Regions from separate parts of the Homo sapiens genome. Here all the other regions are linked to region 5. Evidence: promoter capture Hi-C in 16 types of primary human blood cells and fetal thymus (Javierre and others, 2016). All regions are on one chromosome and are shown on one strand. The core of a region is centred on a gene start or on the middle of the fragment in contact, and the rest is flanking DNA. Distances in the headings are between cores, read along the strand shown. Region 1 holds the start of TBC1D10B (TBC1 domain family member 10B). Region 2 holds the start of TAOK2 (TAO kinase 2). Region 3 holds the start of C16orf92 (chromosome 16 open reading frame 92). Region 4 holds the start of RNF40 (ring finger protein 40). Region 5 holds the start of ATXN2L (ataxin 2 like). Region 6 holds the start of SRCAP (Snf2 related CREBBP activator protein). Region 7 holds the start of HIRIP3 (HIRA interacting protein 3).

What was found. The method cuts DNA at HindIII sites, captures the fragments that hold promoters and counts their contacts. A CHiCAGO score of 5 or more calls a contact.
Region 1: the fragment with the promoter of TBC1D10B here is called in contact with the fragment with the promoter of ATXN2L in region 5 in 3 of 17 cell types (total B cells, monocytes and fetal thymus); the score reaches 6.4 in total B cells.
Region 2: a contact is called between the fragment with the promoter of TAOK2 here and the fragment with the promoter of ATXN2L in region 5, in 1 of 17 cell types (non-activated CD4 T cells). The highest score is 5.9, in non-activated CD4 T cells.
Region 3: a contact is called between the fragment with the promoter of C16orf92 here and the fragment with the promoter of ATXN2L in region 5, in 2 of 17 cell types (total B cells and fetal thymus). The highest score is 5.2, in total B cells.
Region 4: the fragment with the promoter of RNF40 here is called in contact with the fragment with the promoter of ATXN2L in region 5 in 6 of 17 cell types (monocytes, total B cells, non-activated CD4 T cells and 3 more); the score reaches 9.7 in monocytes.
Region 6: the fragment with the promoter of SRCAP here is called in contact with the fragment with the promoter of ATXN2L in region 5 in 2 of 17 cell types (non-activated CD4 T cells and total B cells); the score reaches 7.1 in non-activated CD4 T cells.
Region 7: the fragment with the promoter of HIRIP3 here is called in contact with the fragment with the promoter of ATXN2L in region 5 in 6 of 17 cell types (fetal thymus, monocytes, naive CD8 T cells and 3 more); the score reaches 16.1 in fetal thymus.

What each region holds. Positions count from the first base shown.
Region 1 is chr16:30,368,847-30,371,965 of GRCh38, reverse strand. TBC1D10B (TBC1 domain family member 10B) reads left to right here and starts at 1,472. Exons shown (of 9, transcript NM_015527.4): 1 at 1,472-2,738. The coding sequence starts at 1,783. It also overlaps a transcript of MYL11 not described here. RefSeq lists silencers at 1,587-1,876, 1,967-2,046. The HindIII fragment of the contact is 4,560 bases long and covers 1-3,119 here.
Region 2 is chr16:29,971,815-29,975,218 of GRCh38, reverse strand. It overlaps TAOK2 (TAO kinase 2), which reads right to left and starts at 1,351. Exons shown (of 16, transcript NM_016151.4): 1 at 571-1,351. It overlaps TMEM219 (transmembrane protein 219), which reads right to left. Exons shown (of 6, transcript NM_001083613.2): 6 at 2,171-2,269. LOC124903762 reads right to left here and starts at 1,597. Exons shown (of 2, transcript XM_047435036.1): 1 at 1,439-1,597; 2 at 584-1,222. The coding sequence starts at 1,597. The coding sequence ends at 584. RefSeq lists enhancers at 261-390, 97-868 and a silencer at 1,292-1,661. The HindIII fragment of the contact is 1,984 bases long and covers 1-1,647 here.
Region 3 is chr16:30,021,446-30,024,743 of GRCh38, reverse strand. It overlaps C16orf92 (chromosome 16 open reading frame 92), which reads right to left and starts at 1,546. Exons shown (of 4, transcript NM_001109659.2): 1 at 1,340-1,546; 2 at 859-1,017; 3 at 658-745; 4 at 40-538. The coding sequence starts at 1,403. The coding sequence ends at 517. It overlaps TLCD3B (TLC domain containing 3B), which reads left to right. Exons shown (of 5, transcript NM_031478.6): 5 at 1-317. It also overlaps a transcript of DOC2A not described here. The HindIII fragment of the contact is 16,537 bases long and covers 1-3,298 here.
Region 4 is chr16:30,761,068-30,764,123 of GRCh38, reverse strand. RNF40 (ring finger protein 40) reads right to left here and starts at 1,802. Exons shown (of 20, transcript NM_014771.4): 1 at 1,764-1,802; 2 at 1,447-1,649; 3 at 839-1,006; 4 at 565-706. The coding sequence starts at 1,578. It overlaps PHKG2 (phosphorylase kinase catalytic subunit gamma 2), which reads right to left. Exons shown (of 10, transcript NM_000294.3): 10 at 2,948-3,056. CFAP119 (cilia and flagella associated protein 119) reads left to right here and starts at 2,062. Exons shown (of 9, transcript NM_001014979.3): 1 at 2,062-2,579; 2 at 2,895-2,926. The coding sequence starts at 2,376. RefSeq lists enhancers at 1,484-1,593, 1,714-1,973, 1,461-2,098, 2,054-2,233, 2,824-2,973 and 2 more and a silencer at 2,510-2,739. The HindIII fragment of the contact is 4,015 bases long and covers 165-3,056 here.
Region 5 is chr16:28,821,101-28,824,375 of GRCh38, reverse strand. It overlaps ATXN2L (ataxin 2 like), which reads right to left and starts at 1,377. Exons shown (of 22, transcript NM_007245.4): 1 at 818-1,377. The coding sequence starts at 1,116. LOC124903672 (a long non-coding RNA gene) reads left to right here and starts at 334. Exons shown (of 2, transcript XR_007065042.1): 1 at 334-482. RefSeq lists a silencer at 171-1,320 and enhancers at 1,641-1,850, 1,362-2,098. The HindIII fragment of the contact is 7,883 bases long and covers 1-3,275 here.
Region 6 is chr16:30,697,564-30,700,540 of GRCh38, reverse strand. It overlaps SRCAP (Snf2 related CREBBP activator protein), which reads right to left and starts at 1,370. Exons shown (of 34, transcript NM_006662.3): 1 at 1,299-1,370; 2 at 560-633. LOC730183 (a long non-coding RNA gene) reads left to right here and starts at 1,481. Exons shown (of 2, transcript NR_144637.2): 1 at 1,481-1,660; 2 at 2,610-2,834. RefSeq lists silencers at 1,350-1,579, 1,720-2,129 and enhancers at 1,299-1,593, 2,250-2,439, 2,470-2,559. The HindIII fragment of the contact is 7,629 bases long and covers 1-2,977 here.
Region 7 is chr16:29,993,826-29,997,113 of GRCh38, reverse strand. HIRIP3 (HIRA interacting protein 3) reads left to right here and starts at 1,497. Exons shown (of 7, transcript NM_003609.5): 1 at 1,497-1,573; 2 at 1,651-1,771; 3 at 1,897-2,011; 4 at 2,271-3,208. The coding sequence starts at 1,509. It overlaps INO80E (INO80 complex subunit E), which reads right to left and starts at 873. Exons shown (of 7, transcript NM_173618.3): 1 at 723-873; 2 at 497-567; 3 at 254-306. The coding sequence starts at 803. RefSeq lists enhancers at 790-919, 980-1,149, 3,006-3,288. The HindIII fragment of the contact is 4,684 bases long and covers 202-3,288 here.

The DNA of each region.
Region 1 (3,119 bases), core at 223-2,722, 1.5 Mb before region 5:
TCACTGGAATTCCAGGATGGTGGATGCTATATGGAAATCAGAATATGGGGGTCAGAGAAAGAAGAGGGCGTTTAGAAGTTGGAAGGTTGGAGCTCATAACGTCAGGTCTTTATGCTTGTGATCTAAGGACAACCTGGAGCGCTCATGAGATTGAGGTCGGGATTCTCAGTGGAACATGAGGAGCACAGAGGGATGTGGCAGTGAGGGGAGAGGGGTTGACGGGACTGGGGCCTTGGATCCCCAAAAGAATAGTAACACACATATGGGGAGTTCATGGTATTAGGGATTCATGGATTTGGGGTTTGAGATCCCCACTAGAAGAAATGGAGGGGGTACTCAGAGGGATAAGGTCTGAGGAACTGGAGCCTGGGTTCTGGGGAGGAGCTCAGATAGATGGGAACTGAGGAGAGGGACTTGGAGGTTGGGATTCCCGCAGGAAATGGGTGAAGCAGAGATATGGGTTGCTTATAGGATCTGGGGGCTCTGGCTATTGCCACCTGGGCCTGGAGTGTTGGGGTTAGTTGGGGGCCGAGATCGGAGAATTATAGAGTAAAGGATGAGAGTACTGGGTCAGGGCACTGGATCTGTGGTGGGGCTCAGGGTCCCACAGACCACCAGAGTGTGGGGCTCAGGAGCTGAACGAAGAATAGGGGACCGGAAAGGACTCGAGAGGGGGCAGCGCGGCACTCATTGGTTGAGGGCTGCACTAATGCCCCCGCCCCTTCTCCGTGCTGTCCCCAGCTGTCACCCTCCCATAAGGCTTGTCTCCGGTTGTCACCGACTATCCCTGGGCTGGCACCGCCTGCTGGCAGCATCTTTGCCCTTTGGATGCTCCCATTGGCTGAGACAGCTATCTATTTTCCTGTCCTGTGGCCAAAGTGGGAGAACACGATCATTGGCTGACGGGGCGAATTAATCTCTAGCTTGCCCCGCCTCCTCCCAGCTGTCATTCCTTACTGACCATTTTGGGAGACCTAAAGAATTCTTCAGCTCTTCCTATTGACTGCGGATGCTGTCTGTCACCGCCTAAATAGACATCACTGCCTGTCAATTTGACCTCCACCTGCTCCCCTTTTCATTGGCTCCCTTTTTACCATTCCTATTGGTTAAGAAGCCTCCAGGCCCCACCTCTTACTCGCACAGCCCTGCCTCCTCCTCCGCCCTTCCGCGGTCATTCACCCTTCAGTCATATTCATTGGCCAGGAGGTTCAGACCCCTGCGTTTCTATTGGTTATTTCTTTCGTCCCATCGCCCCCTGCCTTTCCTCGTCCTCTGATTGGTCTTACAGCCCTAGCTTTCTCCGTTTCCTCTTTCCAGATGACCCACCCCTTTTTCGCCTCCAGCCCCGCCCACGATTCCAACGATTGGCAGAAGCCCAGTTCTCTCTCTCCCACTATTCGTCCAAATCCTCTGACTAGGCGGGAGAAAAAAGGAGCGCGATGAGCCAGTCCGCGCGCAGGCGTGGAACGCCGAGACGCTGGCGCGGAGCCGGCTCTGCGGCGTGTGCGCAGGCGCGAGGTCGGCGGCTCGCCCCCAAGCAGGAGGGAGGGGGCGGTGGCGAGAGCGCGCGAGGGGGTGAGAGGGCTCGAGAGAGACCCCGGCGCGCGGCGCCCCCCGACCCCTGCCCCGCCTCTGCGCGCCCAGCGGCCGCTCCGCCCCCGGCGCGCGCCGAGCCGCGCCCTTCGCCCTCTCCCCTTTCTCGGCTGGCCTCGCCGGGAGGCCCGAGGGGCGGCGCCTTCTGCGGCCTCCCCGGCGGGGGGATGTGAGGGGCGGCCCGCGGCCATGGAGACGGGCACGGCGCCCCTGGTGGCCCCGCCGCGCCGTCATGGCGCCCCCGCGGCCCCCTCGCCGCCGCCCCGGGGTTCCCGGGCCGGGCCCGTCGTGGTGGTGGCTCCGGGACCTCCAGTGACTACGGCCACTTCGGCCCCCGTCACCCTGGTGGCCCCCGGGGAGGCGCGGCCCGCCTGGGTCCCGGGGTCGGCCGAGACCTCTGCTCCGGCCCCGGCCCCAGCCCCGGCCCCAGCCCCGGCTGTCACGGGCAGCACGGTGGTGGTGCTGACCCTGGAGGCCTCGCCCGAAGCCCCAAAGCCGCAGCTCCCCTCCGGCCCGGAATCCCCAGAGCCCGCGGCAGTGGCTGGAGTTGAGACATCGAGGGCTCTGGCCGCAGGGGCAGACTCGCCGAAGACAGAGGAGGCTCGACCCTCACCCGCCCCAGGACCAGGGACCCCCACCGGGACCCCTACCAGGACCCCTTCCAGAACGGCTCCTGGTGCCCTGACCGCCAAACCCCCGCTTGCCCCCAAGCCGGGAACCACAGTGGCCTCAGGAGTGACTGCACGGAGTGCATCAGGACAAGTGACAGGTGGGCATGGAGCTGCCGCAGCAACATCAGCATCAGCAGGACAGGCTCCTGAGGACCCCTCAGGCCCTGGCACAGGCCCCTCTGGGACTTGTGAGGCTCCGGTAGCTGTCGTGACCGTGACCCCAGCTCCGGAGCCTGCTGAAAACTCTCAAGACCTGGGCTCCACGTCCAGCCTGGGACCTGGCATCTCTGGGCCTCGAGGGCAGGCCCCGGACACGCTGAGTTACTTGGACTCCGTGAGCCTCATGTCTGGGACCTTGGAGTCCTTGGCGGATGATGTGAGCTCCATGGGCTCAGATTCAGAGATAAACGGGCTGGCCCTGCGCAAGACGGACAAGTATGGCTTCCTTGGGGGCAGCCAGTACTCGGGCAGCCTGTGAGTACCAGTGGGCACCCAGCGGGACCGCCTCGGGGAAGCAAAGGTTGGGGGAGGGCGAAACGAAAACGATACACTTTGCCCAGACTCTGGCAGCCCAGCCTCCTCTGAGGATCCACGGGGTGATCAGCGCGAGCTGCCGTGTCTTGAGCATCCTGAGGTGCCTGTGACATTGGCATGTTAGTGGAGTTTCAGACCAGGGGTCAAGAGGTCTGGGTTTAAGCCTTGCCTTTGATGGGTTGTGTGCCCTTGAGCTAGTGGCTTCCCCATTTCCGTGCCTCAGTTTTTTCCTCTATAAAGTGGATTGAATGAGATGATACCTGAGGTCATCCCTGCTCTTTGATGGGGAACTCCAGCTACAGGCCGGATATTCTGGAGGGT
Region 2 (3,404 bases), core at 102-2,601, 1.2 Mb before region 5:
GATGAGATTATTGACACCATCACAGCAAGAGGTTGGAAGGTAACTGCAGCTGGGGGAAAACATTGCCAGGCACCTCCAAGCACACACACACACGCATACACACAAACACATATACACACACTTCCTTGCAAGGACAAGAAATCCAACCAGACCAGGCCTGAAAAGCAGATAAGCAGACCCACCATGGGAATCAGAGGCATGGGAATCAAAACCACAGAATAGCCAGGAGAACGGGACATATCAGGGAGGAGAGGTGGCTGTGAGGGGCAAAGTGAAGGAGAGAAGACTGAAGTGCAAATCCATCTGATTAGCTGAAGCACCCTAGGGTGTGAACGCCGGTGACATCAGAGACCCTGTCACCTGAGGTCCCCCACCAACCAGACACAATGAAGGGAAGAGGAAGGGGAAGGGGGTGGCAACAGAAGGCAAGGCTAGCCAGAGGCTGACCACTCGCTCAGCTGGGCTTCCCCATCCTGAGAGGGCCTACCCAAGTCCAGCTTCTCAGAAAGGCGCACCCTTTCTTCTCAGAACTAGACACAGGGACCCGCGCCCCTGCACCCCGTGTCTCACCTGGTAGGGGTCACTATGGTGCCCCAGCGCCTCCGCTTCCGCCTGGGGTCCTCCAGCGGCTCTGCCAAGCAGGGAGAGGGGCAAGGAGACCTTTCCCCTTGCCACCTCTTCCTCGGCTTTCGCCCTTCCTGAGGGGCGGGCCCGGGAAGCCTCCCCTGGAGGGGAGGGGGTGACAACCTAATCTGACCTCGCGGTCCAGTCCTCCCCCTCGTCGAGGGCGACAGCTGCCGAATTCCGGATTTCTGATTGTGGGGTCTGAACCCCGAATATCTGAACGGGATGGAGACTGAATCCGATATTTGAACGCCCGGGGAATGAACCCCGGATACTGGTGCACGCAGGGGCCTGAACCTGATATTTGAAATTCTATGAAACAGAGACCCAGGTTTAGAGAGGTTGGGACCCGAGTCCCGGATATCTGGACTATGAGGACTGTTACCCGGGTATCTGAGAAAGGAGGAGGGGCAAAGCCTGGAAATTTGGGACCCAGGGGCCTGAGCTGTAGGTCTTCGGCCACCGACTGGGGGCCCACCCCGAGGACGTCCGGCCGCACGGCCCCTCTCACGCCGGGGTCCGAGGGTGACAGCCCCCACTCCCGCCCCGGCCTCCTCCCTCTCCCTTCTCTCTTCCGAGAATAGCTGAACGATTGTAGCTAAGGTGCTGCTGACGGTCCCCGCGCCCTCTCTGCCTCTCCTCTTCTCCGTCTCAGCCTCTCTCCGCACCACAGCCCCGGTCTCGTCCCGGTCTCCCTCTCCCTCTTCCTCCCAATTCCAAGATGGAGACCGGGCGGGAGCGCGCAGGCGCGGTAGGGACGCCGGGCTAAAGGGGGCGGGGGCGCAGAGGACTCAGCCCCGCCCTCTCTCCTCACTGCCGCGGCCTGGGAGACCGGCAGCCGCCAAGCCCGAGTGCGCGCCCGCCCCGCCACGCGGACCCCAGGCCGGAGGAGGCGGGGAGAAGAGCTAGACTTGCAAGGGGAGGAGCCCGGCACTCTGTCCCACGACTGGCGGTGGACAGAGCTGCAGCGCATGCGCTCGCCCCGCCTTCGCTCTGAGCCCGAGCTTGTTGCTAGGGGAAGCTTTGAGGGGGCGCGGGTGGACGGACAGCAGCGGCGATCTGCGACTGCGCGCAGGGTGGAAGTTGGGAGGGGCAAAGGAAGCTGCTGCTGGGCGCGGAAAAGGCGGGAAAATAGACTGCTCCGAGGTTAGCAACCATCTAACCTGGAAAAGGGCCTCCAAGTGCGAGGAATCTTTGCGCGTCGACGCTGGGAAAACTCAATCGGTCAAATCTCTTACGGAAATTGAGGCGCTGCAGGTTGCAAGACTTGCCAAGGTCACAGTGCATTTATGTCACAGCATTTCCATGACCTGACACCCCACCCGCCCAACTAACTGTAATTATCCATTTTATTTCGTAGAAGAAAACAAGACAGGTGTTTACCAAAGCCAAGTCAACCATGGGGAGAGCTCAAGTAACCTATGCCCTATGCCAACCTGTGTCCAAACTAGAGAGTCAACAGGAAAGAGTCCCCCAAAACTTCTAAGCCTGCCTACCCTAAAATCCCCACCTCAATCCAACCCCCAATAAACACCATACACGCCACTGGGCAAAAAAGCTTTTTATTTTCCCCCACATTCCAGCTCTTCACTTTTTCTAAAACCTTTTCCAACTCAGAGCCAAGGCCCAAGAAGTTGATTCACACCTGGGGAGAAAGAAAATAAAACAACAAAACAGGTCGAAGAGCTGCTAGAGGAAGCTCTGAGATGTGTGCAGAAATTGAGGAAGGAGCAGAGGGAGTGACAGCTAGAGACCAATACGGGCATTTAATCCCAACTAAGGTAGCCTCAGGACCCCAGGGTCTGTCAGGGGCCAGGAAGCCCTCCTTTCCCAGTCCAAGGTTGAGAGGGTCCTGTCATTTCCTGTCCCAAGTAGGTGGTTGGGGCATTTAGGCCCAGCCATCAGCAAAATAAGCACAGTTGATCTTGAGCTTCCACTTCCTCTGGCCTGATCAGTTCCCTGGGCCTCAACTATTTCCACTTTTCCCATAGTAACTTCCTAGGGCACTGCAGCCAGCTGAAGCTGAGACCAGTTCAAGAGCTGGATGCATAACACATGGCTCTCAAATTTCATGCACCCCCCTCTGACAAGTGAAGATTTTTTGCAGAAATATTTTTTCCTTTAGTGAGCTGATGTGTGAACTGGTTAACCAACATGACCCCCACCCACTGCTACGTTTGTGAAGCTGATTCCCTCCAAAGATCTTGTTAACGGAATCAGCTTTTTCTAAAGGTAACGATGACTAAATGGAAGACAGAAGGTGCATGTCAAGTTCTTGGGCACATACTATGTCCCCAGTAAATGAGTATCATCAGTTAGACTCTTCTGAGCGGTTCAAGTTGAATTTTACAAAATTTCCATCATAAAACTGGGTATTGGAATTTCAGGACAAAAGCAAGACAAACATGGTTCATATTCAGGACAAATCATCAAATGTGAACCCTCTTAACTCACCATTGTTACCCAAATGCTTGGATGTGAACTAGTTATGAGTCTTAAAATCACAATGTTGCTTGAAAGAAGTCAGCCACAAAAGAATGTGTATGATTCTGTCTACATAGTTTCAAAAATAAGTAAAACCAAACTATATTATTTAGGAATACATACATGGCAATACATTATAAAGCAGGACAGTAATTTCTAGGGAGAGAGAGGGCATTGTCAGGAAGGAAGGGACCATGGGGGGTTTCTGGACAGCTGGTAATATTCTACTCAGTGGTATTTATAAGTATCCACTTTATAATAATTTGCCAAGCTGTCCTTTTATACTATTGGACTTT
Region 3 (3,298 bases), core at 297-2,796, 1.2 Mb before region 5:
GCCGGCTGCAACCACGGCTCCTCTCCAGGGTAGGCCAGCTTGAGGAATCTTATTTATTTTATTTATTTACCCAAATTTGAACTAGTCTGTTGGGTTGGGGGAAGGAGGTGGCTGCTACCCCCAAGCCTTCCCAGTGCTGACAACCCCGGGGGCAGGCGAGGGCGCCCAGTCCCTCACCATCGGCTGCACATCGCGCCCTCGGGCCCTGCCATGTCCCTGGTGCTACTGACCTCTCAAGGCTTCCTCCAATCTGGGGTCGGGGGACCCTGGGAGGTGCTTTACAGACCGCTAATAAAAGACGATCTGCGTGAACGCCACCAAGGCCCTTGCCACCAAGTTCTTTGGGGCTGGGAAGGGAGGAGGTGGGGGGCTTGGGCCATGGGAAACAGAGGGGACAGGATCCCCAGCTGCTCGCTGGGCAGTCAGGGAGGAGGAAAGCAGGGAACTTTTGCTCATCAACAGGAGAGGAGGTGGGTGTGGGTGCTCAGGTTGAGTCCAGAGCCCTTGTCCGGCTCTTTAGGCCCCTTTCTGGAAGTTTCTGTGGGGCATGGAGATCAGAGGGGAGAGGTCACAGCCTGCCCCGCTAGAACTGGGGTCTTCAGCCGCTCCCAAGGAAGGTGGTGGTGGGTGGGGTTGGAGAAAGGGGGCAGGCCTTACATGTGGGTGCAGAACTGGAAAAGGAGAAAGAAGAACGCCACCACCAGCAAGCCCACCAGGATGTGATGGAAGAGCCCGGGGCTGGAACCTGCTAGACAAACAGGACCCTTAACTCCCCTCTGATGGCCCAATGAAGGGTCTGGGGCTGCTCTCCTCCAGACCCTGGCGGGGAGGGAGGTCCCTTCTCAAGCTGGTTCATACCTGAGTTAATGAACACGATGGGTTTCTCTCCAATAAACTGGGCCACAGCCAGCAGCCTGGCTTGGTCTGAGTCCGGATAATCGAAGAAGTCAGGTCTGTCTAAGAAGCGCGGAGACTCTGTCCCCAGGGCTGACGCCGTGGCACGCTTGGGTCTGGGTGCTAGGACCCAAGCAAACTCTGTGACAACAGCCAAGCTGACCCCTGCCTTTATCTCTCGAGGCGGAAGCTGACTTGGGACCCTGTGAGACCACCCAGCCTTATTGCAGAGGCTGTGGAGGGTCTTGATTTCCCTCAGGGTCAGCTGGGTGCACCACGACAAGGCTCGCGGTTGTTGGGGGGTAGGTGGGACCAGCAGGATGGGAGAGAAGAGTGGAGAGAAAATGAGAGGGTGCAGGGTTGGCTTCCGAGTCCCTAAGTGGGCATCACACTTTATGCTCCCAGAGCTGCCTGCCTTCCTGCTGCTCCCAAGACAGCTTCTTACCAGTTTCTATGGCCCCTAGTGCAGCCAGCCACACCCACACCAGCACCCATGGCCACAGCCTCATGACTCCTATCATGAGGTGGGGGCTCTGTGATGTCACAGCCCAGAGCTGTTCTGATGGCACTTTGGGGTGAGGGGAGAAAGTGCTAGGAGCTGGGACCCCTCCCCCATCCCTCACTCTCATCAGAAGAGGAGAGGAGAAGAGAGGTTGGGACCAGTCTTCACCCCCTGGAATGTCGCTGATGATAAAACCATAATGGTGGCAGCCCCAGCATTTACAAAGAGGAGGGATGCGGCACGGCCATCTTGCTGAAAGCCCGAACTAAAGGAAGCTGTGTTTGGACAACAGGCACAATTTGGGGTGGTGGCACAGGGCCACACACCTCCGGTTACCCCTTGGATCAACCACAGGTAACATTTGTTTTATTTATTTTCATTTTTTTGGAGACAGGGTCTCTGTCTGTCACCCAGGTGGGAATGCAGTGGCGCCATCTTGGCTCTCTACAGCCTCTGCCTCCTGGGTTCAAGTGATTCTCTTGCCTCAGCCTCCTGAGTATCTGGGATTACAGCTTTGGATAAATCCCTTCCTTTTATCTGTCTGCCACCACACCCGGCTAATTTTTGTATTTTTAGTAGAGACAGGGTTTCACTATGTTGGTCAGGCTGGTCTTGAACTCCTCACCTCAGGTGATCTGTTCGCCTCGGCCTCCCAAAGCGCCCGGCCTATTTTATGTATTTTCAGAGACAGGGTCTCACTCTGTCACCCAGGCTGGAGTACAGTGGTATGATTACTGCAGCCTTGAACTCCTGGCCTCAAGTGATCCTCCCACATCAGCCTCCTGAGTAGCTGGGACCACAGGCATGTGCCACCATGCCCGGCTAATTTTTGCATTTTTTGTAGAAATGAGGGCTTGCTATGTTGCCCAGGCTGGTTTCGAACTTCTGGCCTCAGGTGATCCTCCAGCTTCGGCCTCCCAAAGTGCTGGGATTACAGGCATGAGCCACCATGCCCAGCAGGTAGCATTTATTGAACACCTATTACTATGCTGGCTGGACCCCATTTATGGCCAAGTACCTTGCACAAATTTGTTCATTTGCTCTTGCACTGACCCTCAGAGGCAGGTACTCTTTTTTTTTTTTTTTTTTTTTTTTTTTTTTGAGATGGAGTTTCACTCTGTCCGCCAGGCTGGAGTGCAGACGCACAATCTCAGCTCACTGCAACCTCCACCTCCTGGGTTCAAGCGATTCTCCTGCCTCAGCCTCCTGGAGTGGGATTACAGGCGCGCACCATCACTGTTCGGCTGATTTTTGTACTTTTAGTAGAGATGGGGTTTCACCATGTTGGCCAGGCTGGTCTTGAACTCCTGAACTCGGATGATCCGCCTGCCTCGGCCTCCCAAAGTGTTGGGATTACAGGCGTGAGCCACCAAGCCCAGCCCAGAGGCAGGTACTCTTGCCTCCCTTATACACGGGAGGAAATCACGGCACAGAGGGGAAAAGTAGTGTGGGCAATGCACACTTCCTGGGGGGGGGGTTCCTCTCTGAGGCTCCCCCTTGCATCCTATCCGCAGATCCAGGGGCACAGGGCTCTCTCCGTCCTCCCCCGCCCCCTCCTTAGTGCTCAGCCGGGAACGACCCTGGGGTTAGGAACCGAGAGGAGTAGCAGGCGTCTCCCACTAGGTGGCAGCAGCGGCCGCGCCTGAGTCCACGCTCCCACCCTAGGAAAGGCGCAGCGGGGCGGACTCCCGGGCCTCCTCCCGCCTCTTCCACAGGTTGCATCCGCGGCTGCAGGAAAACGGATGGCTGGGAATGGCCGTCGGGGGTTGGTCAGAGGAAGTCCCTCGGCCCTTTCCGAGGCACATCTCTTGGCCATCCACGCGTCCTTCGCAGACTCCGCTCCCTGCACCTCCGTTTCCTCTTCTGTGGCCGGCGGCTCCCCCGTGGCCACCCCATCTCCCA
Region 4 (3,056 bases), core at 553-3,052, 1.9 Mb before region 5:
GTACCAAGTTCCAGACTGAGCCCTTCAATACTCATGGTTCACTTAATCAACACAACCTATAGTGCACTATTATCTCCATCCTGAAAGTGAGACAAATGAAATTCAGGGAGGTAAAGTAATTTCCTCAAAGCTACAGAGTTGCGTATCACATCCTCAGGGAAGCTTCCTGTACTTTACCAATATAATTAGAATCACACGCACATGCATGCACACACAATCATTCCGTTTCAGGAGCCCCAGTACTTTCTGCTTACTATGTTTATAATTTCCTCCCTTATAGCAAGTGCAACACTCATTTCTAGGAAGCGTCAAATACATATTTAATACTCAACCATAATACTGTTTTGAAACAAATGGGTGTCAAAACATGAATTGCTCTATAAACCAAGTTAGTCAGAGTCTAAAGCCTGTGTTTTTGTGCACTGCACTTTACTGCCCAAACATGAAATCCATTTCGTGAGAAGTAGTAAGATAGGCAATTCAGGGGCCCAACACCAAAGTCCCCTCCTCCCCAGGACTTCTCCCAGAACTTAAGCTCCCCAGATCCCAGCACTCTGGTCCTACCTCTCAGCTCTGATGTCCCCGGCTCTGGGAGAGGAGTCCCATCACATGTTGGCCCCTCCTGGGTCCCAGGTGCCTCAGGCGCTGAAGACAGCTCCCCCTGGCTCTCATGGCATCGGAGAAGGGCTTCCACAGTTTCATCCAGCTGGAAGGAGAAAACATCAAAAATGTTATGAATCCCTTAGTGCTTTCCAACATGATACTCCTTTCCTAGCAGGGGAATCTGGGGATTGGCAGCTGAATCAAGGCCTGGTCTTTGAAAGCAGAAGGTATCCACCTGGGCCCAGTAGCGATTGACGATGAGGAGTGTGGCATCATCTGTGGCCTGCCGCTTCTCCAACTTCTCAATTCGTTCTCGGAGTTCATCTTCACAAGCCTGCCGTTGTTCCAGCCGCTCTGCCAGTTTCTTGTTCTTGAACTGTAGTACCTTCAGGTCCATCTCCTCCTACCAAAGGAAACAAAGGGGCCGACGAGAGCGTCAAGCAGGGCCCACAAACCAATCACAGAGAGAGAAAGAGGAGCAGAGCATCTGCAATGCATGGGAGATGGAGGTATTCCCACACTAACCGCTAACAGAATCTAAGGAGGCTCAGACAACACACAGCGAAAGTGTCTTTGTTGTGAGGAGGCTCACGTTGTTTCTGCCTGTCCCCTTGTAAATCCTTAGTCTTTGACAAGTCACACGCCCCCTGGAAACCTGTTTTCCTATCTGTAAAGGGAAGACAGGCGTCGTGTTCTGAGCTTCTTTCTAACCTTTCTTTCAAGGTCCTGTAACGCGGACCTTGCTAAACTTGGGGAAGTGGGTGTAAGATTCCGCACAGTTTGGCCAGAGAACAGAGGGAGGGCTCTGGGAAGTTCTGAGGGTTAAGGCAAGAGCCCACGAACCGTGGAAGAGATGCCTCCAAGACGAATGGGCTCGATAAGAGTCGTGGTGGTCTTCTCCTCACGACTCAGCTTCTTTTCCGGGGGCCCTGAGCCCCCGTCGCCGGCGGCGCGTTTGTTGCCTGGCCCAGACATGGCCGCGGCGGCTGGAGCGATGCAGGGTCCCCTGAGGGGCGTCAAACGGGAGGAGGCGGTACTTCCGTCACCTGCAGAAGACACAGAGCAGAGATGTGGGAACGGCTGGTGTTCCACAGCCCCAAACACCCTCCACCCTGCACACACCTGCTGGATCCCGTCCCCCCCGGCGCCAGAGCCCTCACCAGCAGGAGGGTCAGCCTAGCGCCGCCATCTTGGATTTCACCGGACGTCACTGGGCGTCACTGGACGCCACTGCCCCCCCCCCAACGGTGCGCAGGGCGCAGGCGCCAAAGGCAGCCCCGGATGTGAGGAAACTTCTTTATCTTCTGCTTCTATTGGTTACGCTTGGTCCCGCCACTCGGGTCCTCTGGCTTCTTCCCAAACACCTCCTCTTTCTCTCGGTGATTGGCCAAGAGGCAGTTCCCATAGTAACTGACACCGCGCTCCCACTTCCCAGCCTGGAGGACAGCACCGGCCCTCGTATTAGCAACCTGGAAGAGAGGGCGCCCAGGTGGGCACTCGCAACTTCTCACGTATCTGCGCGTTCTCTTCGCTCCCACTGGCGTGAGCCTGCGCTTTCCGCCTTCCTTCCCTCACAAGCCCCCTTGGCAACCGTCGCCGTTGAGACGGAGGGAGACGCCCCCACGGATTCGCCCCGCCGCGCCTCTCCGCGCGTAGATTGGCCGGAGCGAGGCGAACGGGCCCGGCCTTGGTAGCCGCCGACCGAGCGCTGGCTGTCCTGGAACCTAGGCGGCGGGAGCCCGGGGCGCCTCGCGGCACGGAAGAGCGGCGAGATGCTCAACCGCAAGACCAGCCACTTTTTGGGAATGAGGGTGCAGTCGGAGCTTGAACATCTCTCCGAGCTGCGGCGGGAAGCGGGGAAGGATCGCAGCTCAGTGCATGGGTCGGCCGCGCGGACGCGTGCGAGTGTGCGGACTCAGTGGACGACGGCGGCGGCGGCGAAAGCGGATGAAGACCCCGGAGCCAACTTGTTTCCGGTGAGGGCGGGACAGTCTGGTCTGCTCGTGAATATTTATAAACCGGCTCCCCCGCAGGCGCCACCTGTCATTATGCTTACTAACGTTCGGGACGTCTCCCGGGCTGCTTGGGCGAGGAGAGGCAGGGGTGTGTGACCCCGGTGGTTACTGTGCTCGCGTAGAGCACCTAGGGCCTGCTGAAGCCCTCCCTCGCCCGCGCCTCTCCTTAGTCCTTGAGATGAGATGGCAAGTTACAGCGGCTTCTCCGGCCTGCTGGAGATTCGCTACGGGCCAGGACACCGCAGCTGCCTTCCCCAATTCGCTTTCTTTCCGCAGCCGCCGCTGCCCCGACCCCGGATCTGCATGTGGTGAGTGTGAAGAGACAAAAATTACACTGAATATTTGCGTTCTTTATTGTCTCCCCAACAGTCCTGTCTGTGGCCAGGGCATCCCCATTTTACAGATGAGACTGAGGCCTGGAGATGCAATTACTCCAGG
Region 5 (3,275 bases), core at 128-2,627:
GACTTTCCGAACCCCCACCTCCAGCGATCAGAGCCCACTGCGCCTGCGTGTGCTGCCACTCTTAATTCCATTAACACACACACACTCGCACAGGAAAAACTGAGCAGGGCCTCCACTACTCATGCACTGCCACCAGACGAGCCCCTCCACGAACTAGTCCCTGCCCTAGGTGTTCCCGGGGCGCGCGAATGCCCGGGTCATGAGACCGAGCATCCACGCGCACGTACGGGAAGGGGGCGCGCGCGCCAGAGGCTCCCGGCCCGCAGTCCTCCCAGTCATCCCTCCTTCCGTCCCCCCGCCCACCTCGCTCCCCTCCTACTGGCCAGACCGGGAAGGGGGAGGCAGCAACCCGCTCCCAAGTCCCTCCCTCCCCATTGGCCAAACTGTGGGCCGCGCGCCCCCCTCCATTGGCTACGGCCGGGGACCCCTTCCCGCAGCAGACTCCCCATTGGCTGAAGCCGGGGACCGCGAGACCCTTCGTGGTAATGGAACCGGGGACCCCGATCAGCTCCTTGCCCCCCCCCAACTCCCCGTTCCGACGGCGCCGGCGGGATGCGCCCCGCCTCCCCTGAAGGCCGGGGCTGCGAGCCCTGACTAGGCCCCGAGAGCCGAGCGCGGCCCCTCAGTGCTCCGGTGGCCGCCCGGGGACCCTTTCCGTCCGACCTGTTCGGACCTGAGGGGGCCCTCCCCCAGCTTCACGGGGACTCCCCACCCAGCCGGTGCCCCTGACGGTGCCGGGTCGGGGTCCGCCCCACCGGAACCGAGCCACAGCCTCTGGGTGGCCGCGGCTCCCTCGCCCGGAGCCCACCCTTCTCACCTGGCGCTGCCGATGGCGGCTGCCCCCGGCCTCTCCTGGTGTTGCTGCGGCGGCGGCGGCTGCGGCGCCAAGATGCCTTCGGCTCCCCGGCGGAGCCCGCTCCCGGCAGCGGCCACAGGCCCCAGGCAGGGGGAGGCGGCCGCTGGAGGCCCGGGAGGAGCCGCAGAGGTGGCCAGCGGCCCCGGGAGGCCGCCGTTGGGAGGGCTGGTGCCCCCGGGGGGCCGACGGGCCACGGCCTGTTGCGTGGGGGGCGGCTGCTGGGGCTGGGAGGGCTGTTGTAGCGGCTGAGGCTTCAACATGATGGCAGCGTCCGGAAGGGGAATTAGAGAGAAGGGAGGGAGAGAGGGGGCCGGGGCTGGGGCCCCGCTGGAGAGCGCGGGAAGCGAGGGGGATCGGGCAGCCGGGGCCCGCCGTGGGCGGGCGGGGGGAGCCCCGCGGTGTCGGGGGTGGAGAGAGAAGACCGCGGCGCGAGGAAGCGCCGCGAGGCGGAAGGGGAGGGGGTCTCGCGGCTGGAGGAAAGCGAGAGGGCGCGAGCCGGGCTGGCGCGCGTGCGCGTCGCCGGGGAGCGGAGAGGGAGGAGCGCGCGGGTGGGAGCTCCCGGGGGGGGGGGGGGGGGGGGGGGGCCAGGAGCGAGCAGTGGCGCGAGGTGCCGCGCACACCGGCGCGGTTAGCTCCCGGCGGGAAAGTGGGAGAGAATCAAGTCGGTGAACCTCGCACCCCTAGCCCTGGGAGTGGGTAAGGAGCGGCGCGGGCGCTCACGCGCGCCAAGGATTTAGGGTCTTAAGGTCTCAAACCGCCTTAGAAGCCGGCGGCCGCTGTCGCTTCACAATGAGCGTGTGAGGCGCAGGGGGAGGAGCCGAAGGCGCCAGAGGAAGGGCCGGCCTCTCCGCCCACGCCGTCGCTGCGTCGCGATGCCTCCGCGGGAGTGTGAGGCGGCACGTCGTGCGTGAGGCTCTTCCGCCACTTGGCGGCCCGTGGGCAGAGCCTTAAGTGCCAAGAAAGTCTCCGGGACTGGACCACCCGAGCCACTGCGCTTTTAGGCAGGTGGTAGGTTTCGCAAGGAGCTACCCTCCACCTTGTTTGCTTTAAGTAAAAGACTGATGAGCATTAGTGATTCGTTTGAGCGTGTTGATCTTTGCAGATAAATTTACGCCTCGTCCTAAATTATTTCAGATTTTTGTGATTTTGACCTAAATTGTTCCTCCATGCCCGAGAATGAATCTTTAAACTGTAATAACAAAGACTGAAGGCCAAAGTTCCGAGTTCAAAATCCTCCACCCGACCCTGCAATGAAGGCAGCTTCATTCATTCAAAATGAGTTGGGCATTGGAGTATTCAGTTAGTTGTTTTGGACACAAGGATAATTAAACTGCTTCCTGCTCTGGAGGAGTTCATGCTAGTGGTGAATTCAGAGAATTTGACGAGATCTAGTAGGTGAAGCACAGAGGACTACAAGAGCAAATGGGAGTGACACCTAATCTTAATCCAGTTTTGGGAGACCCAGATAAGGGACAGGAGGGCCGGGCGCAGTGGCTCATACCTGTAATCCTAACATTTTGGGAGTCCGAGGCAGAAGGATCGTTTAAGGCCAGGAGTTTGAGACCAGCCTAGGCAACAAAGTGAGACTTTGTCTCTACAAAAAAAAAAAAATTTAAATTATAAAAAAAAACTGATAAGAGGGCAGGGGGAGATGGGTTTCTAGGCAGGGAAATAGGATATGACAAACTAAGAAAAACTCAGCTTGTCCTAAGCATAAAATTAAAGGGGGGAAGAGGTAGCTAATCTGGGATCAGGTTTTAAAGGCTCCCAAGTCTTGTAAGAGACACGGACATTATCCTCAAAGCAGTGGGGAGCTTATTTAAGAAAGTGAAAAGAGGCTGGGCATGGTCTGTAATCCCAGTACTTTGGGAGGTTTGAGGTCAGGAGTTTGAGATCAGCCTGGCCAACATGGTGAAACCCTGTCTCTACTAAAAATGCAAAAATTAGCTAGGCGTGGTGGTGCATGCCTGTAATCCCAGCTACTCAGGAGGCTGAGGCAGGAGAATCACTTGAACCAAGGAGGCGGAGGTTGCCGTGAGCCCAGATCGCACCACTGCACTCCAGCCTGGGTGACAGAGCAAGACTCCTTCCCCCCAAAACAAACAAAAAAACAAGTGAAAAGAGGTCAGATTTGCATTTTTAAAGGTTTACTCTTTGCAACGTGGAGAATGGAGTGGAGCTGTTAAGTCCATGTGGTCTTAATCCCAGCGAAACTCTCAATGTCTCAATCTCTTCGCTCTAAATGTTAGCATTGGAACTCTTCCCAGCCCCTGCACCAAACACATGCACACCTAGCTACAACACTGCCTTACTTTTTGGGTAATAGTCCTTCGCCCTGCCTCGCTCCTGCCTTCAGATGTGCTAGTTTCCCCTCCTGTGTGCTCGCCGAGCAATTTATCCCACTGTATTCTAACAGCTC
Region 6 (2,977 bases), core at 121-2,620, 1.9 Mb before region 5:
GAAATAACACTGAATAAAGAGAAACACAGAAATTACAGGTTACATTTCTTGAGCACTTACTATGTATAAGATACTTTTAGTACCTGTTTGATGTGTTCTATAATCCTCACACCTACCTTAAAAACCAAGTGCTTTTCACAGCATAACAAATATTGACTTCCTCCTACACACAACGGATATAGCCATGCAGAAAGGATTCCCGACCTAAATGTAGCTTACATTCTAATATAATCTGTTTTGTAAGTTACGAAGTTAAGACCTTATGATTTGCGGAAGGTTACACAGTAAAAAAGTGATAGGAGGGCTTCAATCCACAGTCTGATGCCAAAACCAAGGAAAACCTGCTACTCTTCCTGGTAGAGCCAGGTTGACCACGTTTTCCTCAACCCACAGCCTCAGTTCTGTTGTTGTACTATAATCAAACCCTCTACAGAAAAATCACATGCAAACATTCCCATGCTTCTCTAGAGTGAAAATCCCCAATACGGACCTATAATTGCTTTATCTCAAACATTTCTCCCATTAGCATCAGCACACAAAATGGTAGCAGATCCCTCACCTGTGTGAGCTGAGACCACACCCCCTGTGAAAGTCTGCACTTCCACGGTGCCGCCGTACTGAAGGGAATCACACCTGAAACATCCATCAAAGCGTATTATTTACTCCAGTTTTTTGAGACGTTTAAATATACCCAAATCAGTTAAAAGACTAGAAACAGAAAAACTACAGTAGTAGGAAAATCTCACATTTCAGGGAAATGCAAATCATGTTTTGTGAATTCCGGAGGGACATACGATCCTGCCTGGGGGCAGGAGCAGGAAAGGAGTGAAGAAAGAAAGTTCAAAAATTTTAAGTGTAAAGGCTCCAACCACAGAATGGAAGACAAAAAAAAAATACAGCAAAAAAAAGCTGTCACATCCAGAACCTCAGAAAGGTGCTACCTGCCTGCGGGCCTTTCCAGTGAGGGCTGAACGCAGAAGTGAGAGTGGAACTCCCGGGAAGAGTCAACAAACAGGCTGGTCACAGGAAAATCCGCCCAGGATTCAGGGCAGGGCGCTGTATATCCCATACCTGCGCCTTGAGACACTTCCCCAAATACAAGAACCACAGCAAAAGGAGACTCAGGAGCAGTCAAAAGCGAGAGGCCGCACTGCCAAGAACCACGCGCCGGAAACAGGCAGTGTGAACCCGCAGGAGGCCCGGAAATGCTTCCCCAGTGTTTAAGGAAATTCCTAAACCACAGTGCCGGCTTTGATTCACTCCCTACTCCGCCACACGTTCCCAAGACCCGAGCTCACCAGAAGCCAACAAGCCTTAACTCTTGACTTCAGGTTTCGTGACCATCTCCCTAGCCCTCCCGACGGACTGACCTCGCGTGACCCCTGACCTCTGCCCAAGTTGCCACTAGCCCTGAGATAGCCCCGCCCCCTCCAGACTCCCACCCCACCCAACGTGCGCGCCGGGCGGGGGAGGGGCCCGCGCGTGCGCGGCTGGAGGCGGAGCGAGCCGGCTGCGCGCACGGCCCAGGGGCTCCCGCCAGAACCCGAGCCCACGCACACAAGGGTCGCGGGGCTGGGAAGCTCGTCATCCAAGCCCGTCAGGGAGCCCCCCCATCACCCGACCGCGAAAGGCTGAGAGAAGGGAGGGTTCGTGCCACCAGGTCCTGGTCCCCCGGCTAGATGTGGTGGGCGCGCGCCCCGACTACTCGTCCCACGCCCCCCTTCCTCTTCCCGCGCGCCCCTGAGGGGTGACTGGGTTGGTGGGCGGGCAGGAGCGCACCTGGGTCCGTCCTCTCAGGGCTCGCTCGCTCGCTCGCTCGCTCAGGCACGCGTGCGCAGAAGGGCGGGAAGGGAGAGGAGACACGCCGGGGCCCAGCGCCGGCCGGCCTGACCCCCTCAGTCTGTCTCTATGGGCGCGCGCCGACAGCCTCGCGCACCGGCCCCGGGGCCCCGGCTGAGGGTGCGCGCGCAGCACCCCGGGAAGGTGGGGGGGAGGCGGTGGCGGAAAGATGCGCGCGCAGTCAGCCGTCATGGGAGGGGGAACTGTGGGGCGTTCGCCATCTTGTCTCCCTCTCCTTACCTGCGTCCTCGGGGGCGTGCGCACCACCCCCCCTCCCGCCTAGGAGGGGGGAGGGCCCCCTCTTGGCCACCGCCTTCGCGGCCTTTAAACTCCCCTGGAGACTGCGGCTACTGCCACCGCCTTGCCTCCACTGCCTCTTCGCGCAGCACACAGATGCGGACGGTGGGTGGGAAAAAGGGCAGACGCTACTCCCAGCGAACCGCCGCTGCCGCTCCCGAGGCCTCACCAAAATGGCCGCCGCCGTCTCGGCCGCCACCACCACCACTACCACCACCACTCGCTCGGAATCGCTATCGCCGGCGCGGCCCGTCTTCTCGCGAGAGACAGTAACTGGAGGGTGGGGGAACGGGGAGGCTCGCGTGCTAGCGTAGGGTGCAGCACGGTGCGCAAGGCAGCCTGGGAGGTGTAGTCTCCCAGAGGCTGCGCGCTCGCCCTTCCTCGGAGCGCCTTTACCGTTTGCCCCTAGATCTACCTGGGGCTGCATTGCGGCTGCCAGCTCGGACCACCGCCACCTCCCTTTTTATTTACAGATCACCCAGTAAGCTGCAGCAAGTTAGCAGTGGAACCTGGGCCTCCCGATTCCCATGGCAGCCCACTTCTGTAGCGCTGCTTCGTTTTACGCGAGGATGGTTTCCTGATAGCTTTCAAACACCTTTGCCATCTCTTCGCAAACTTTCTAGATTAAGAATCCCTTTGAGAATCTGATACCTTTACCCCAGAATAGAACAATAAATAACAGCTACCTTCTACTGACACTACTTGGTGCCTTGATTATTTCTTTTAATCCTAACTGCTCCATTTTACAAACGAATTGAGGCTCAGGCGTTAAAACACAGTGACAGATCCTGAAGTCAAGATTCCTAGCCAAGCAGTCTAAGCCACAAGAATGCACTCGCTG
Region 7 (3,288 bases), core at 248-2,747, 1.2 Mb before region 5:
TAAATTACAAGAGGCCAAGGGCTTTGCCTATCTCTGCCTCTGCTGTATCCCCTGTGCCAAGCACAGTGCCTGAAACACAATAGGTGCTCAGTAAGTGCCTGAATGAAAGAACGGTGGAGGTGGAAGGCAAGCAACTAGGCTTAAGGACCACTGGGGGCTGCATCAGCCACCACTGCCTAAAAGGCGGGGGCCCAGGAAGCTTGCTAAGTACCAGGAACCATGCTCTCCACCAATTTTTGAAGACCTTGCTCACCCGAAGAGTCTTCATCCACGTTCTCGTACTGCAGAAGTCGGTCTAGGAGGAAACTGAGGGGAGGGAAGGAGACACGGACAGTGATTTTCCAGCGCAGCAATGTCCTCCTGGGTACCTGTCCCTCCCAGCTGGCCCATCGGATACTTGAAAGAGCCCATGCACTTGTGGCCCTACTCGGGGATGGGGTCCGAATGTAGATTTCCTAGGAAGCACATCGCCCTCCGCCCCTGCAACGTGCCTCACCTCTTGTCCCGGGACACCTTCAGTAATTTCCTTTGCGCTTTCCTCAGCTCCTCCTGGAAGCACTCGTGCTCCTGTATCACGGGCAAGGGGTGCGCTGGGCCAACGGTCCTCCGTGAAGGGCCCCGGAACCAGCGGCCGCTCGCCCCACCCACTTTACACCTGGGTAAACTGAGATCTTGTCCGCGCCAGGCCTCATCCCCCACAGCCTTCCCGCGGCAGCACTCACGTAGATGAGGAACTTGAGCTTCCGCTTCAGATTCCGGTATTTTTTTTTGTAGTCCACTTCGCCGTCCGCCGGCCCGTTCATGACCGGCCCGGGAGTGGCGCCCAGAGTCTGCCCTCCCGCTACCCCAAGCAGTGGCTGCCGTGCCGCTCCCGCCTCCACTTCCGGAGACGCTGCAAGGCTGTGCCGTCAGGACTACAACTCCCGGCGTACCCCGCGCTCAGGGGCGTCACCGCACGGGCCGACCTCCCGGGGGACACTGGGACAGGAGCGCGGCAGCCACTGCGCTGGGGATGGCGTAGCAGCGACGCGGTGACGCCACAAAAATGGCGGACGCTGGAAAGCGCCGTTCCTGACTCTAATGTACTTAGACACTTGAAGCCACAAAAGGATTTATCCCCGAGGTTCCTCATCTGCTCGCGAGGATGCCTTTTCTCTTCTGCCTTGCGAAATAACAGCAGCCTAGCTGTTGCCCGTGACCAGTGAGAAAGGCAGCGTCGCGGGCTGATTAGGTTTCACCCAAAGGGTGCCGGCGCCGAATTGGTTTCTAACGAGAACTTTTAAAATGATCCGTTCCAAAAAAGGGTAGGAGCCGCGAGACCCTCCAACTGCCCAGAGAAAACAAGTCTCGTCTGGCAAAGTTCTCGGCCCACGCGGTCCGCGGCCAAGGGCCAACGGTCCCTCGCCCCACGTTGCCGCAGCACTGCGCGTGCGCGAGCCGCTGTCAAACGCGCTGACGGAGGCCGAGAAGAAAAAAAGGCGGGAGCCGTCAATCCCGGGTTGAGCAAAATGGCGCGGGAGAAGGAGATGCAGGAGTTCACCCGTAGCTTCTTCCGAGGCCGCCCGGACCTCAGGTGCCCAGGGGGTTGGAGATGGGGTTGGAAAGGGCGCGGGTGGGTCGGGACTCCGTCCTGACACCATGTCCCTGCAGCACGCTTACGCATTCCATCGTGCGGCGGAGGTACTTAGCTCACTCGGGCCGCAGCCACCTGGAGCCCGAGGAGAAGCAGGCACTGAAGCGGCTGGTGGAGGAGGAGCTGCTGAAGATGCAGGTGTGCCGGGCCGGAGCCTGGGCCGCGGGAGGCGGAGGCGGGGCTTGCTGCTGAGGAGGAGGGGCCTGACGGGGCGCGGTGAGCGCAGCCTTGGTGCATAGTTTGCCCTCTTGGCGCACACACAGGTGGATGAAGCCGCTTCCAGGGAAGACAAACTGGACCTTACCAAGAAGGGCAAGAGGCCTCCCACCCCTTGTAGCGACCCGGAGAGAAAAAGGTTCCGCTTCAATTCAGAGTCGGGTTAGTGCTTCCTCCCTGCTGTGGGGGCCTTCTGCATCGTTGGTTCACTCAAGAAGCATTCACTGCGCATCTCTTATGTCCCCAGGCGTTAGATGAGGGAGCAAGGCTAGTGAGTCAGGAACCGGGAACAGCAAGTACAGATAGCTGTTTCCTGCTGCCCCTCCAACTGTCAGGGCAGGGCTCGAGGCAACCTATCCGAAGTGAAGGGAGAAGGGACAGGAGGAGCCTGTCTCAACCCTCTCTCCTCTCCATATTCCAGAGTCCGGCTCTGAAGCCTCCAGCCCAGACTACTTTGGACCCCCAGCAAAGAATGGGGTGGCAGCAGAAGTCAGCCCAGCCAAAGAGGAGAATCCAAGGCGAGCCTCAAAGGCAGTTGAGGAGAGCAGTGATGAGGAACGGCAGAGGGACCTGCCCGCACAGAGGGGAGAGGAGAGCAGTGAGGAGGAGGAAAAGGGGTACAAGGGGAAGACTAGGAAGAAACCTGTGGTAAAGAAGCAGGCACCAGGCAAGGCCTCAGTCAGTAGGAAGCAGGCCAGGGAAGAAAGTGAGGAGAGCGAGGCAGAACCCGTTCAGAGGACAGCAAAGAAGGTGGAGGGAAATAAAGGAACTAAAAGCCTGAAGGAAAGTGAACAGGAGAGTGAAGAGGAGATCCTAGCCCAGAAGAAAGAGCAGAGAGAGGAGGAAGTGGAGGAGGAAGAGAAAGAAGAGGATGAGGAAAAGGGGGATTGGAAACCCAGAACCAGGAGCAATGGCCGGAGAAAGTCAGCTAGGGAGGAGAGGAGCTGTAAGCAGAAAAGCCAGGCAAAGAGGCTCTTGGGAGACTCAGACAGCGAGGAAGAGCAGAAAGAGGCAGCCAGCAGTGGGGATGACAGTGGGAGAGATAGAGAACCCCCAGTGCAGAGGAAGAGTGAGGACAGGACCCAGCTTAAGGGTGGGAAGAGGTTGAGTGGAAGCAGCGAGGACGAGGAAGACAGTGGGAAGGGGGAACCCACAGCTAAAGGCTCTAGAAAGATGGCCAGACTGGGCAGCACCAGTGGTGAGGAAAGTGACTTGGAGAGGGAGGTAAGTGACAGCGAGGCAGGGGGAGGCCCCCAGGGGGAGAGGAAGAACCGCTCTTCCAAGAAGAGCTCCAGGAAAGGCAGGACACGAAGCTCCTCTTCCTCCTCAGATGGAAGTCCAGAGGCCAAAGGAGGGAAGGTGAGGGTGAGGAGGGGTGGGAGGCCACTATTAGGGAAGAGGGAGACCCTGCCTCAGGCCCAGCAGGCTTGGCCTTCAGC